2 separate regions of the Homo sapiens genome follow, and region 2 is linked to region 1. Evidence: promoter capture Hi-C in human tissues and cell types (Jung and others, 2019). All regions are on one chromosome and are shown on one strand. Each heading gives the region's core, a stretch centred on a gene start or on the middle of the fragment in contact. The rest is flanking DNA. Distances are from core to core; before and after follow the strand shown. Region 1 holds the start of DOK5 (docking protein 5). Region 2 overlaps PFDN4 (prefoldin subunit 4).

Region 1 (6,262 bases), core at 1,081-3,580:
GGGCTATGTTGTGTCAATTGTAATAATCTAGAAAAAATAATCTCAGTTACCACAAACAAGAAAGTGATGGTAACCAGTTTTTCAAATAAATTACCATGTGTCACAATTTGGCATAAACTCTGATCCTTATGAATAATTCATATTTTGTGCATTAATAATGCATGTCCTCTTCCCATTGGAATGCTCCCTAACACAGAATGGATGTCTCATACCAATTCCTTCCATTGACATGATGGAGTAAAGCTAAATTAGAATGCTGGGTTTTTTTTTTTTTTAACTTAACTCCCCTTAAAATTGTAACACTTGGCCAGCCTATAAGCATACCAAAAATAGAAAGTTCCCATTATTGTTTGCCCCTTACATGGGAGTCACTCAGTAAAGTACCCCCAACAATGGGTGCTCTTGAAGATGAGAATATTTGCATAGCAGAAAAGAAAACCAAGGAAACTTTGGCAGAGCTGATGGAAATGGTGAATTCTGTTACATTTCTCCCTAATTACATATGTATATATTCACAATAACACAGGACATAATCGCTAAAACATGGTCACCAGCAGGGGAGAAAAAGAAAAGAAAAAGACCAAAACGAATTAGGCAAGAGTTTTATAATAATTGCGGATGTTCCTCCCCACAGGGCTTCCCTCCCTAGCTGAGTTTACTACTGTGAAATTTCTTTTCAGTTTTCAGTAAAAGTATCTGGCACATTAAAACAGTCCAAAGACCAAGTAAGAGAAAGATGCCAAATGACACATATTTCTAAAGAAAGCTATTCAATTTACCACTCATTATCAATGGCGGCATTCCACACGATTACTGACATTATACTTATTTCAGGCATTACACCAAAGGATATTTTCTCCCCCCGCCCCCGCCACCTCTCCACCCCCACTTTTCACCCCTTATGTCCAAACGCACAGGATCAACTAAAACAGCGACAACACTTGATAGGAGGCAAAGAGAAATGAGGGACCTAGTTTGAAATTTTTAGGAAATAAAAAAATCGTTCCAGTATCTTCCCTCTCCCTCAAGAATTCTTCCACCATCATTCAGTCCCAAGGAGAGGAAGGGTAGGTTCTCTTTTGAAGCCTCCTCCAGCGAAGAGCCAAGAGAGAAAGGGGCGAAAGAGAGGGAGTTTTAAGGAAGGAGCTAGCCTGTGTCAACATCTGTCCCAAGTGCCCTAAGATTCATTCATTCTTCCTTTCAGGACATATGTAGGGAGCACTTGCGCTATGCCAGGTATCAGGTTCCACGTAAATAACCCTTCCGTGGACCTCCAGGGTGTATTCCAGCAACAGAAATCCACCACCCCGGCTTCGAACCACGGAAAATCCAGATTCAAGTATCTACCCAAGTTGGCCCCGACCAGAGGCCAGCCCGCACCGCCTTTGACACGACACCTGGGACAGAGGTGGGGGGATCCAAAGACACCTTACGCTTGGCAGAAATCTCTCCCTGGGGTCAGAGGGTTCGTGACCTCGTTCACACCGAGTATGCGTGTCCTCTTTCTCAACCAGCCGATCCATCCCCCGGAAAAGTTAAGTTGGCGGCGAGTGGGAAAAGAGGGGAACCGGGGGCATCCGGCAGGCACCCCCGCCCGGGCTTCTCAGCTCCAACTTCCATGGCTACCGAGAAATATTTATTTCGAGTAGATGGGCTCCAGGGGCTACTGAAGCCCAACACGCGGCCACCATCAGAAAGCCAAGTCATCCAAGAGATAAAGATAGATCCATTACATACCTAGACGCTGGCCTTACAGTGACAGCCCCGGAGACGCGGGTTTCGGCTGAGAAAGCCACCGCGCAATTCTCCGGCGCGCGGCCGGGGACTCTCCGTCCACCCTCCAGGGATGCTGGCTCAAGAGAGAGACAATCGAACCGGCGAACAGCAACACGGAGAGGATCGATACTCACCCCGAGGCGTCTGCTCCGGATCCTCACGTACCCTTGCTTCACTATGTCATTAAAATTGGAAGCCATCCCAGACAGCCGGTGACCCCCCCTTTACCCAAGAGCGCGCACCCGAAGTGGCTCTGGGGAGGGTGGAGGGCAGGGTCAAGACAAGCAGTCGGTGGGAGAAAGTTGGAGAGGTGAAGCTGCTTCGGCGGCGCTGGGCGAGGCTTTAGAAGGCGCACATCACTTTCTCTGTCCCCCCAACCCTGACAGTGGGCGGCCGGCTTGCAGCCACTTTCGGGGAGCGCAGAGCGCGGCGCGGGGAGGCGAGGCTGGAGCGCCGGCGTCAGCTGACTCCGCGGCCGGCCTGCCAGGAGGAGGAGCGGCGGCGGCTGAGGGATCCAGCCCTGCCTCCTCCCGGCCGAGAAGGAGGAGAAGAAGGAGGAGGAGGAGGAGGAAGGAGGAGGAGGAAAGAGGAGGAAGGGGTGGGGGGCTAAGAGGAGGAGCCGCGCGAGTCCCAGCACTGGGCTGCGGCCACCCGTGAGCAGCCGCCCTGGAACGCTCCCCGCGCCTCCCACCCACCTTTCCCTCCCCGCTTCCCCTTCCGATCCCTCCCCTCCTGGCGGACCCGGAGCGTGCCCCCGCCACCCCCGCACCTCGCCCACAGCCTACTGAGATAGCGCTCGCTCTCCTCGCTCCAATGACTTATTTTAGGAGGAGAGGAAATTTCACTTTTTTCCAGCCGCCGCCCACCCCGCCTCCCCCTTCAGCCCCTGCCCTTTCCCCGAGAAGGGCCGATTTTGCGTGTGTGTCTGGGGAGATGGTGTTGCCGCGGCTCGCCTTGACCTTGGCATCTGAGGAGAGGGATATTGTCACCGCTTAAGCCAAATGCTTCCTTGGGTTTCCTTGTGTCAGGGACCTAGCCCTCGCTGGTATCATTTGCCACAGTTTCCCTGTTTCAGCCTCTTTCCCGCCGGAATGTGTTTCCCAGGGGGCTGAGACTTGGCCTCATCACTGTCTGTCCCCAAAGCCTGACCCCAGAGCAAGTGCTCAGTAAATCCTTGTGGTTATCAAGATGGCCACCTAGGTGCCAGGCACTCTCCAAGCCTTTTGCATGGATTGACTCATTCAAACTCCCCTGCACTTTTTGAGGTAGGTGCCCTGTTAATGTATACACCAGGCCCATATTTAATTAAGCCTCCTTAGCCTGGCAATAGAGCTCTCATTGCCATTATGAGATACTGCCTATACAATAAGATGAAGAAGGGGACTGAATTTCACACTCACCTGCCCCTGACTGCATTACCTCCCTAAAGCATACTTGATTGATAATTGCTAACACACATTGAGCACCAGTGTGCTGGGCATTGTGCTAATCTTGTTAAGGGAATAATGAATTAGGCACCAGCATCCACATTTTACAGACTTGCTAAGGTCTCACAGCTGGCCACTATCAGAGCTAGGATTGAAGGGAGGTGTGTGTAGTGCCCAGCTCTGCTCCTAAACATTCTCCTATTCCTCTTCTGAAGAGAGGATCTCACAGAAAGAGAGGTTACTAGTTGATTTCCAAGGAAGATCTTTCTAATCATTTGCACTATTCACAAAGGCAAAGATAATCATCAGAAATTAGACAAAAATTCTTACTCACTGGGAAGCGACAAAGCTAAAGCTAGAGATCACTGCTCAGAGCCATTGAGAAGAGGATTCAGTTAGTAGTGGATTGTTTGACCTGATGACATCCACAGGTCTTTCAACTCTAAGACGATATGAATCTTCCCATTCTCACTGGGAACATTAGCTTTTAGTCACCTTGGCTTGATGAGTTTCAGTTAAAGAACAGAAACCTCCAAGAATGTGTCATAGGAGAACCGAGACTAAATGGGGACAATCAAAAAGGAGATATTCTGGCAGGGAGAACTATTTTTGCTACATAGTAAACCATCTGTCTTCATGTTGCCATTCTATGGAAAATGATGTTTTAATTTTAAATCTCTCACCAAAAGAGATGAAATGGTAAAATCATTTGGAGAGCTCCTTTTGAAGGATTGGAACTTAAAAAAAAAAATGCTGCCCATGGTTGCTGTAAAATAGAGGTGTTCATGGAAGGCATTTATCTAACACATCATTTATAGACCAAGTCCACAGTATTATAGAAACAAAAAATGAAGAAATTAAGGCATAAGGAGCTTGAAATGAAGGGCCCACAATAACGGAAATAATTACTGACAAAAACTGAAGGCGAGAAATCCATCCCTTGATAGTTAATGCTGACTATAATCAACATCCATAGATAATTTAACTGGAGCTGAGGAAACTAGAATCAAACCAGAAAATATCAAACTAGACGTGAAGGAACAAATGATTTCTTTTTTAAATTGCAAGACTGAATCCAATATATGGTTTTGTTTGGTGAAATCCAATTGACATACATGCAAAACGTACAGACTGTGATATACTATTCATAGGACATTTACACTTGTCCAAATTGTGCAATACAAGCCCTGGCAGCAAGAGCAAAGAGACTGGGCACAGTGGCTTACGCCTGTAATCCCTGTAATTTTTTGGGAGGCCGAGGTGGGTGGATCACCTGAGGTTGGGAGTTCGAGACCAGCCTGACCAACATGGAGAAACCCCGTTTCTACCAAAAATACAAAATTAGCTATGTGTGGTGGTGCGTGCCTGTAATCCCAGCTACCTGGAAGGCTGAAGCAGGAGAATCACTTGAACCTGGGAGGTGGAGGTGAGCCAAGATTGCACCATTGCACTTCAGCCTGGGCAACAAGATCGAAACTCTGTCTCAAAAAAAAAAAAAAAAAAAAAAAACATTAAAAAAAGAAAAAGAAATGGAAAAGAACCATTCACAGAGGTAGGCAATGTAAGGGGTGCTTATAGAGTTCTACAGTGCACAACTTGCCTAACCATATGCTGCCGAACAAATATACTATCACACATGATTTAGTTTTACTGGAAATGTCTGACAAGAAAAAATACTATTTCGTTCCGTGTTTTGAACTCAATTTTTGAATATTTAGAGCTTCTTATTTGTAGTATGCATTTCTGTTTGTTTCCTCAGCATCCAGAGTTTGTTCTTCCCATAGTAGTCACCATTTTCACTGAGTGTACTCACCCCTGTTTCCAGCTCACGTGTGCAGCCCTGTCCATGGCCTTTCTTTGGACAACTAGTGGTTGGTGATTGGTTCAGATATGGGCACATGACCTAAGCTGGCCAATTAATAATGAATTGGGTTACTTTTACTGAATACTGGGAGGAAGACTCACACTCCAGCTGAAATGGAATCTGGATGGAAGAGGCCCAGGAGCTGCTGGCACAAATGGTGAAACCCCAGGGGAGGGCTTATCGAAGAGTGAAGGCCACGCTAAAGGAGCAGAACCAAGACATAAAGAGAAGCAAACCAGATCCCGACGATCTGATTTGAACCCCTCTTCCAGCACCCCAGGAAGTTATTTAAGTAGATTTGAAGATTTTGTAACAATTAGACCCCAAAATATAATGATTTAAGATGCATAAAAGTTTATTTATTTTTCATGTAACAGTTTATCCTGGGCAAGTAGGACACTTAGTCCTATAAGGATGCCCAGGGATCCAAGCTTGTGGTTCAACTCTGGCACCTCAGGACACGGTTTTTCATCCTTGAGTCTAGTCATTGTCTGATACAGTTTTTCTGTGTCCCTACCCAAATCTCACCTTGAATTATAATAATCCCCACGTGTCAAGGGTGGGGCAAGGTGGAGATAATTGAATCGTGGCAGTGGTTTCCCCCATTCTATTCTTGTGGTAGCAAGTAAGTTTCATGAGATCTGATGGTTTTGTAAAGGCAGGAGTTCCCCTACACAAGCTCTCTTGCCTGCTGCCATGTAAGACATAACTTAGTTTCTCCTTTGTCTTCTGCCATGACTGTGAGGCCTCCCCAGACATGTGGAACTGTGAGTCTATTAAACCTCTTTCCTTTATAAATTATCCAGTCTCAGGTATGTCTTTATTAGTAGCATGAAAACAAAGCAACACCCTCTCATTTCCCAGGAAGTGGGAAGAAAACATGGAGGGAAAATAACCTTCTAATAAAAATATGATCCAGATGTGTCAAACATCTCTTTTTCTTGCATCGCGTGGACCAGTGTTTTGTCACATGGCCACAGCTGGCTCCACAGGAAAATGGAGAATGAAGTTTTCATCTGGGCATGGTCTGTTACTGAAAGAACAAAATGAATCCATAATGGGCAGGTCCATTAGCACGCTCTACCTCACCAGTGCCACTCCTAGACTATTTAATTGCACAAGCTAAAAAATTCCCATTTTCGCTTAAACCAGCCCAAACTAAGATATTCTGTCACTTACCACTAAAGGAGTCCAG
Region 2 (6,783 bases), core at 2,985-5,484, 260 kb after region 1:
GCTGTGTTCCTCCCCAGATGAAAAGCAACTTTCCCTGGTCAGGGAGTGAAGTGGGCAGTTGCTCTCTCCCCTGGCCTTTGAGGGTCCAAAAGGACCCTAGTGGTCACCCGGCACCATTGTTAACTTTGGTGAGAGTTTCCTCAAATTATTCTGATCTTATTTCCTGCTGCAACTTGATTGACTACCTCCCCAGCCTCAATCCTCTAACTGAACATTAACCAAATGGATGCAAGAAAAAAATATCCTTGCATTTTTTTGGTAAGAGTCATTTTCCAGAACTGGAATATCACTATTTGGGAAGATTTTTGCAGCAATTTAAAAATTTGCCTTTGGCCGGGCACAATGGCTCGCCTGTAATCCCAGCACTTTGGGAAGCCGAGGCGGGCAGATCACAAGATCAAGAGATGGAGACCATCCTGGCCAACATGGTGAAACCATGTCTCTACTAAAAATACAATTATTTGGGAGTGGTGACAAGTCCCTGTAATCCCAGCTACTCTGGAAGCTAAGGTGGCAGAATCGCTTGAACCCAGGAAGTGGAGGTTGCGGTGAGCCGAGATCGCACCACTGCACTCCAGCCTAGACAACAGAGTGAGATGCCATCTCAAAAAAAAAAAAGAAAAGAAAAAACTGCCTTTATAGTATTAAGAATTTTAGAAATTATATAATCATCTATCTTTAAGCCTGAATTCATGTTTATAAACACTGAACCAAAAAATACATATGCAGTTTAGCCTTAAAAATTAAAAATATTTCCTCTAAAATTATGTATATTTAATCCTAACAATCTCATTGTTGTGTTAGGATCCTTCCATTCACATTTGGCACATCAGTGCCATCTGCTGGAAAGTTAATACATTTAGGTCTCCCAAATCCCAAAATGTTTGTCTTTTGTGGGGGAGTGGGAAGAAATGCATCCTTTATTTAAGAAATAAGCCTTACTTTTACATACATAGCTGTTTAACTTCCACATCTTTATCAATATAAACCCCAATTAATTACAAAGCACTAAAATAAAATCTAAAATTTAAAACGAAAAAACACTAAACATTTCTTTCTGCACATCTCTTGGTTTCTAAAACGTTCTTCTGTGGTTCTGCCCTGTTTGTATAAAGCTCCACATGCCTCCACATGTTTAAACATTACCCATTCTTTTACCCAAATCTCTGATATTGATAGATATGTAAAAAATGTTAAATATGTATGTTTAAATATAATATGTAACATATATTTAAATAAAATATATACATATATATTTTGAAGTCTATGACAAAGCTTTAGTTGTGAAATAAGCAAGGATGCAGGATTGTACATCTTTTCATCGTGCTTTCCCCGTCATTAGACAGCAATTAAAATCAGACAGAAACAACATGACACAACTGTTAAATTTTCTTATGTGAAAATTGCAACAACAAATATTCTAAATAATATAGAAACATAAAAGATTGCTTAACTGATTTTAATAACATGACATGAAGCCCCTAGACTTGATATAATCGTTATGCAAAATACATAGGTGAATACTGTCTTCTTTTAAAAATATAAAATAAATAAGCAGACATGTGAAAATGGGCAAGTTTCCATTAAATAAATGAAAATTTTTAAAAAAGAAAGTTTTGCTTTCCATGTCATTTGAAGAAGGAAAATTATCATTTTAAACAATATTCAAGTTTATTAAACAAATAAAAAAAGTATTATAAAATGTTTAACTTTCATCAGCTTCAAGGTTTATGTTGCTCCCGAATTTTGCATACAACTGAACTTTCAAATCTGCTAACACTCGCTGAATTGATTCCACTCTGGATTCTAAGGCGTCAATTTCTTCTTGCAAATTTTTCTGGAAAAAAAATATTTTAAATTAATTCTATTCAATAGGATGATTTCTGAGCATCTGTGTCTGAAATAATATTTGGGAAGAATTTTAGGTCAAGAACCTTCTAAACTTGGACAGGCAGCTAAGTAACACTGATAATTAGATCTAAATGTCTGAATGTGGGCATTTTTAATTCATGGTCCATATCTGCTTATCACAGAATAAATCAAGTTTGTTTTCTCAGTTTCTGCTGATCTAAAAAATAGTAAAAAATTACTGTCTAAATTATTTCCTAACAAAGAACCAAATACAAAGACTTCTATAAATAGTTTATCCTGGGCCTGCTGGCTTCTAACCCAGCTTTTTCCAACAACAAAAATAACTATGAGACTACAGGAAATGATAGAAACTCACACCACCAACCACCAATAATTAAGAAGAACAACTTATGATCCAAATCTGGCAGAAATTTTCACTAACTTTGAGGCCTCTGGAGCTAAACTTTGGAAAAGAGTGGTAAAAAGTGCCTCATTTGTAAGAAAGAGCAGCTTTGCCCAGTGAAAACTCAGATATTTTCTAAGTATTTGAGGTGATAGACATGTTAACTATCTTGATTTAATTATTCCATATTGTATTAATAAATTATAACATCCCGTTTTACACCATAAATTTATACAATTATAAATTGTCAATTTATAATTAAAAAAAAGAAAATACAATTCCAAAGGACAATTCTTTCTACCTACCTATCTATAGATACTTAGCCTCTTCAATTCTAAAACCAGTTTTGTAATGTTAATGCTTCCCTCATTAATAGATTAAATAAATTTTAACATATACTCTTTGTTTTAAAAAAAAAAAAAAAAGCCATTAAGTTCCTTCCTGGCTAGGATCAAAACAATTTTTTTTCCTAAACATGACAAAAAAATATGAAATCACACAAACCAAATACCCACTAACATTAGAAACCAAAGAATATCTAATACTGACAGTGTTGCCGTTTTAGAAATCTAGCCAATGGTTCTCAAACGGTGGCCCCGAGACCAGTGTCAGGGACAAAATCACCTGGGAACTTGTTAGAAATACACATTCTGGGGCCCTACCTCAGCCCACCTGAAAGATCGTCTTTGGGTCGGGCCCAGCAACCTGGATTTTTAACAAGCCCTGTGGTGACTGTGATTCTCACGCATGCTAAGTTTGAGAATCACTGTTACAAAACAAGAAACAAAAATAAGACATATGGCTACTAGAAAGGGATAAATTCTAAATTTCTATACCGAGAAAACCTGGTTAATAAGTAAAATAAGACACTAGAAAGTCATTTTAATATCGCAAGTCCAATCATCTCTCTCTTTTCCAAAAATCTCTGAAGGCTCCTCTTTGCTCTGGGACGGGAGTGGGCAAACTATAGCCCACAGGCCCAATCTAGCCTGAAGCTTGTTTTTGTCAAGTTTTATTGGAAGACAGCCACGCAGATTCACTCATCTTGCTTTCATAGTAATTATGGCAGAGGCTGTGCAGCCCACAAAACCTAACGTATTTACTTCTGGCCCTTCACAGAAAGTTTGCTGACCCCTGCTAAGACAAAGTACAATTTCTTCAACTCAACTGACTGGAGTTCTCCAAGATGTGGCCACAATTTCAGGTGCTCCCAATCTCCAGCAAATACATCTTCTTGCAGGTCTATGTTTGCACCACCGTCATCCTATGGCCGTTCACACATGTTGCTTCTCACGACTAGAACCCCCCGCCCCCCGCCGCCCCTTTCTGGCTAATAGCCACTTATTCCTCAGCTGTTATCCCATCACTTTCCCTGGGAGCCCTTCCCTGACCCTTGATGTCCAGACTAGTGTAGATTCCTCTTCCTGTGTTCTTAAAGCCACCTCTATCCTCATATCACTTTCTACTCATTATCAGTTTTGTTTACTTTTTTTTCTTTCCATCTAGACTATATGCTCCATGCAGGCAGGGGCCAGGCAGGTTTTGTTGTCCCCAATTATCCCTAGTACATGGCAGAACCTGATACAGAGTAAGCACTCCATTCATTCTAGAATTCTAGAATGAGTAAAAAAAGAAAGGTTCAGCCGGGTGTGGTGGCTCACGCCTGTAATCCCAGCACTTTGGGAGGCTGAGGCGGGTGGATCACGAGCACGAGGTCAGGAGTTCGAGACCAGTCTGCCCAACATGGTGAAACCCTGTCTCTACCAAAAGTACAAAAATTAGCTGGGCGTGGTGGTGGGCGCCTGTAATCCCAGCTACTCGGGAGGCTGAGGCAGGAGAATTGTTTGAACCCAGGAGGCAGACGTTGCAGTGAGCCGAGATTGCGCCATTGCACTCCAGCCTGGGCGACAGGGCAAGACTCCATCTCAAAAAATAAATAAATAAATAAATAAATAAAATAAAATAAAAGTTCAGTAGCTATCTGTGTATGGGGCAGGGGATTCACAATAGCCACAAAAACCATAAGCTATCTGGGAATACTTCCAATAAAAATGTTTTTTAAATGGTTAAACAAATAAAAAGAACAAAAATCACAAAATTTGACCAAGAAGAAAAGATTTAAACATAAGGGAGACATATAAGATTTATGCATGGAAAGACCCAGGAGTGATAGTTCTTCTGAAGACTTACTAAATGTGGGTTTCATTCATACGAAGTTTTGCTTTTTATGACATTTGAAGAGAGACTATCATTTTAAGCAATCAGGTTAATTAGCAAAAGCATTAGGAAAGGTTTAATTGCCATCTGCTTCTCATAGACAAACAACGTGGCTGTCCCTCCCAAATAGTAAGAAGGCATGTGAACTGAAAATTTCATACCATGTATCAAATGTCTCAGATATTATCAGAGAACTCATATGCTGACTGACCCAGTAATTATATTTCTCTAATTATTTCCTCAAAACAATTTTCTAAATGTGAACAAAGATTTATGTAGAAGAATGCTCACAGTAACATTAGTACAGCAAAATATTGGAAACAAATTAATGCTAACAATAAGACCCGTGACCCCAATTGATAACCATCAACATGATATTAAACAGTCTTCAAAAACGATGTTTTTAAAGGCCTGTGTGCCAGGCTCAGAGCAGGCTTCCAATGAGTATCTGCTGGACAAACAAACATTCAATGAAACCAGCAAAAATGCTCCTCCTGGAACATTAATTGTCCCAACTGGGAAGCAAACTACACGGAGAGAGGCAGAGAGAACATAAAAGAAATACAGGAAAATGTTCACTATGAATGGTTACCTCTGCATAGCAGAATTACAGGGGATTTTTCTTTTCTGCTTCAATATATGCTATACCTTCTAAATACTTTTAGTTTTGAGCAAGGTTCTGGAGTCAGAAGACCACTGTCTATGTGTCACTTTGAATAAATCCCATAACCTCTCTAAGCCTCTATTCTTTGTCCCTAAATTGGGATAACAGGTCATCGTTATGATTCAACAAAATCCTGCTGGCAAAGCATTCGGAGCATGCCTGGGACATAACAAGGCAGTAAATATTAGCTATAGCTAGCATCTACTATTTCCCTACATCTATAATTACATGTTCTTTATAGTGATATAAATTCTAATTTCAGAATTAACCTTTAACATACCTTTGCTTCTTCTAACATTTCTTGCGTTTCTTCTTGAGAATGGCTAATGAAGACATCACCAATTTGATAAGGTATCATTAAGCAATCATCATCTGCAAGCATGATGTCATCACAAGCATCTTCTAGGTTTTGGAGTTGTTTCTATAAATGCAAAATGGCAAAGAAAATGTACTCAAAGTTCTCTGATAGAAGCTAAAGGCCAATTGTAATTTGGGGACAGCAACTCTCTGAGGGACCCTCTCACAAAGGTATTATTACCACATTAGAATAAGACCTTAATTTGTAACTTTTTAGAAGACATTTCACAAGCAAGCACTTAGAGCTACCTAAAGCTTTGTCCTCTGGACAATAAGCGCCCTGTGGTGGACAGCAGGCACATGGTCACTCAAAATTTCTTCTATTTTAACAATTTTTGACTTTGTGAATTCTGCCTTCCTACAAAAACAAAACCAAAAAAACCAGCCTACATTTCTCAGCCTTGCTTGCTGATAGGGTGTAAGTAAATCATGCGGGTAATGAAAGTTCTGCCAGCATGCATAAGTGATAATAACTTCAATTCCACCAATCAAATGCATTTGAGCTGGATTTCAACTCAAGGGGGACGGCTGGACACAGGCCCCAGATTTACTGGGGTAGGTGGCACTGGCAGCAGCAGCTTGGTGTTCCTAAGTCTGCAAGGGTGGCTTCCTCATTGGGAAGACAGCTGACTCTGGGATCAGTGGAGGCAACAGCTGTTCCACCGCCAGCCAAGTTCTCCGAGACTTGTTCCTGGAACCTCGGTCTAGACTCAAGCTCCTCAACAACTCTGTAAGTTATCGCATATCCCTTAAAAAAAAAATGACTTTCTGCTTAACTAGAGTGGATCGCGTCATTCATCTGCAACAAACAGCCCAGAGAAATATATATTCACTTGTTAACTGAGTTCAGTTTTAGTAGCTATAGTATAAAAAAATTTTATTCTTCTAATAATTATTTTCAATACCTTTTTTACTTCTATTTCTTCCTTCAGCTCTGTGATTCTACTTGTATTCCGTGCAAATTTGTTTATCTTTTGTTGATCTTCGAAAGTAACATTGACATCTTCTGCAGCCTGAAAGAAGTGTTTAAGTTTTTGTAAAATTTTAACGGAGAAGTTATCAGTTAGCTTTTTATATTTCTCAACAATAACTCAATAAGCCATTTGCACTCATATAGTCAAGAATCACAAGAAGTACAGAACATAACAAATGCCTTATTTTTTGCTCCACAAGCTTAAGGTTTGTTTGTAAATCTATAACCTTTTCTGATACTCCATAAAATAATTCCTAAGCTATAAACATATTGCAAACATAAAGAACAATTAATAAGTCCTTTTAAAAGGAAAGAAAA

The links. Contacts are between HindIII fragments. The study calls those that stand out against the background at their distance.
Region 2: a contact is called between a fragment that was not itself captured here and the fragment with the promoter of DOK5 in region 1, in 1 of the 25 tissues and cell types used here (H1 embryonic stem cells).

Annotation. Positions count from the first base shown.
Region 1 is chr20:54,471,661-54,477,922 of GRCh38, reverse strand. DOK5 (docking protein 5) reads right to left here and starts at 2,330. Exons shown (of 8, transcript NM_018431.5): 1 at 1,911-2,330. The coding sequence starts at 1,976. The HindIII fragment of the contact is 11,986 bases long and covers 1-6,262 here.
Region 2 is chr20:54,214,073-54,220,855 of GRCh38, reverse strand. PFDN4 (prefoldin subunit 4) reads right to left here. Exons shown (of 4, transcript NM_002623.4): 2 at 6,398-6,505; 3 at 5,416-5,556; 4 at 895-1,837. The coding sequence ends at 1,706. Among named protein-coding and RNA genes, the nearest start is that of PFDN4, 9.4 kb to the right of the region's middle. The HindIII fragment of the contact is 3,944 bases long and covers 2,263-6,206 here.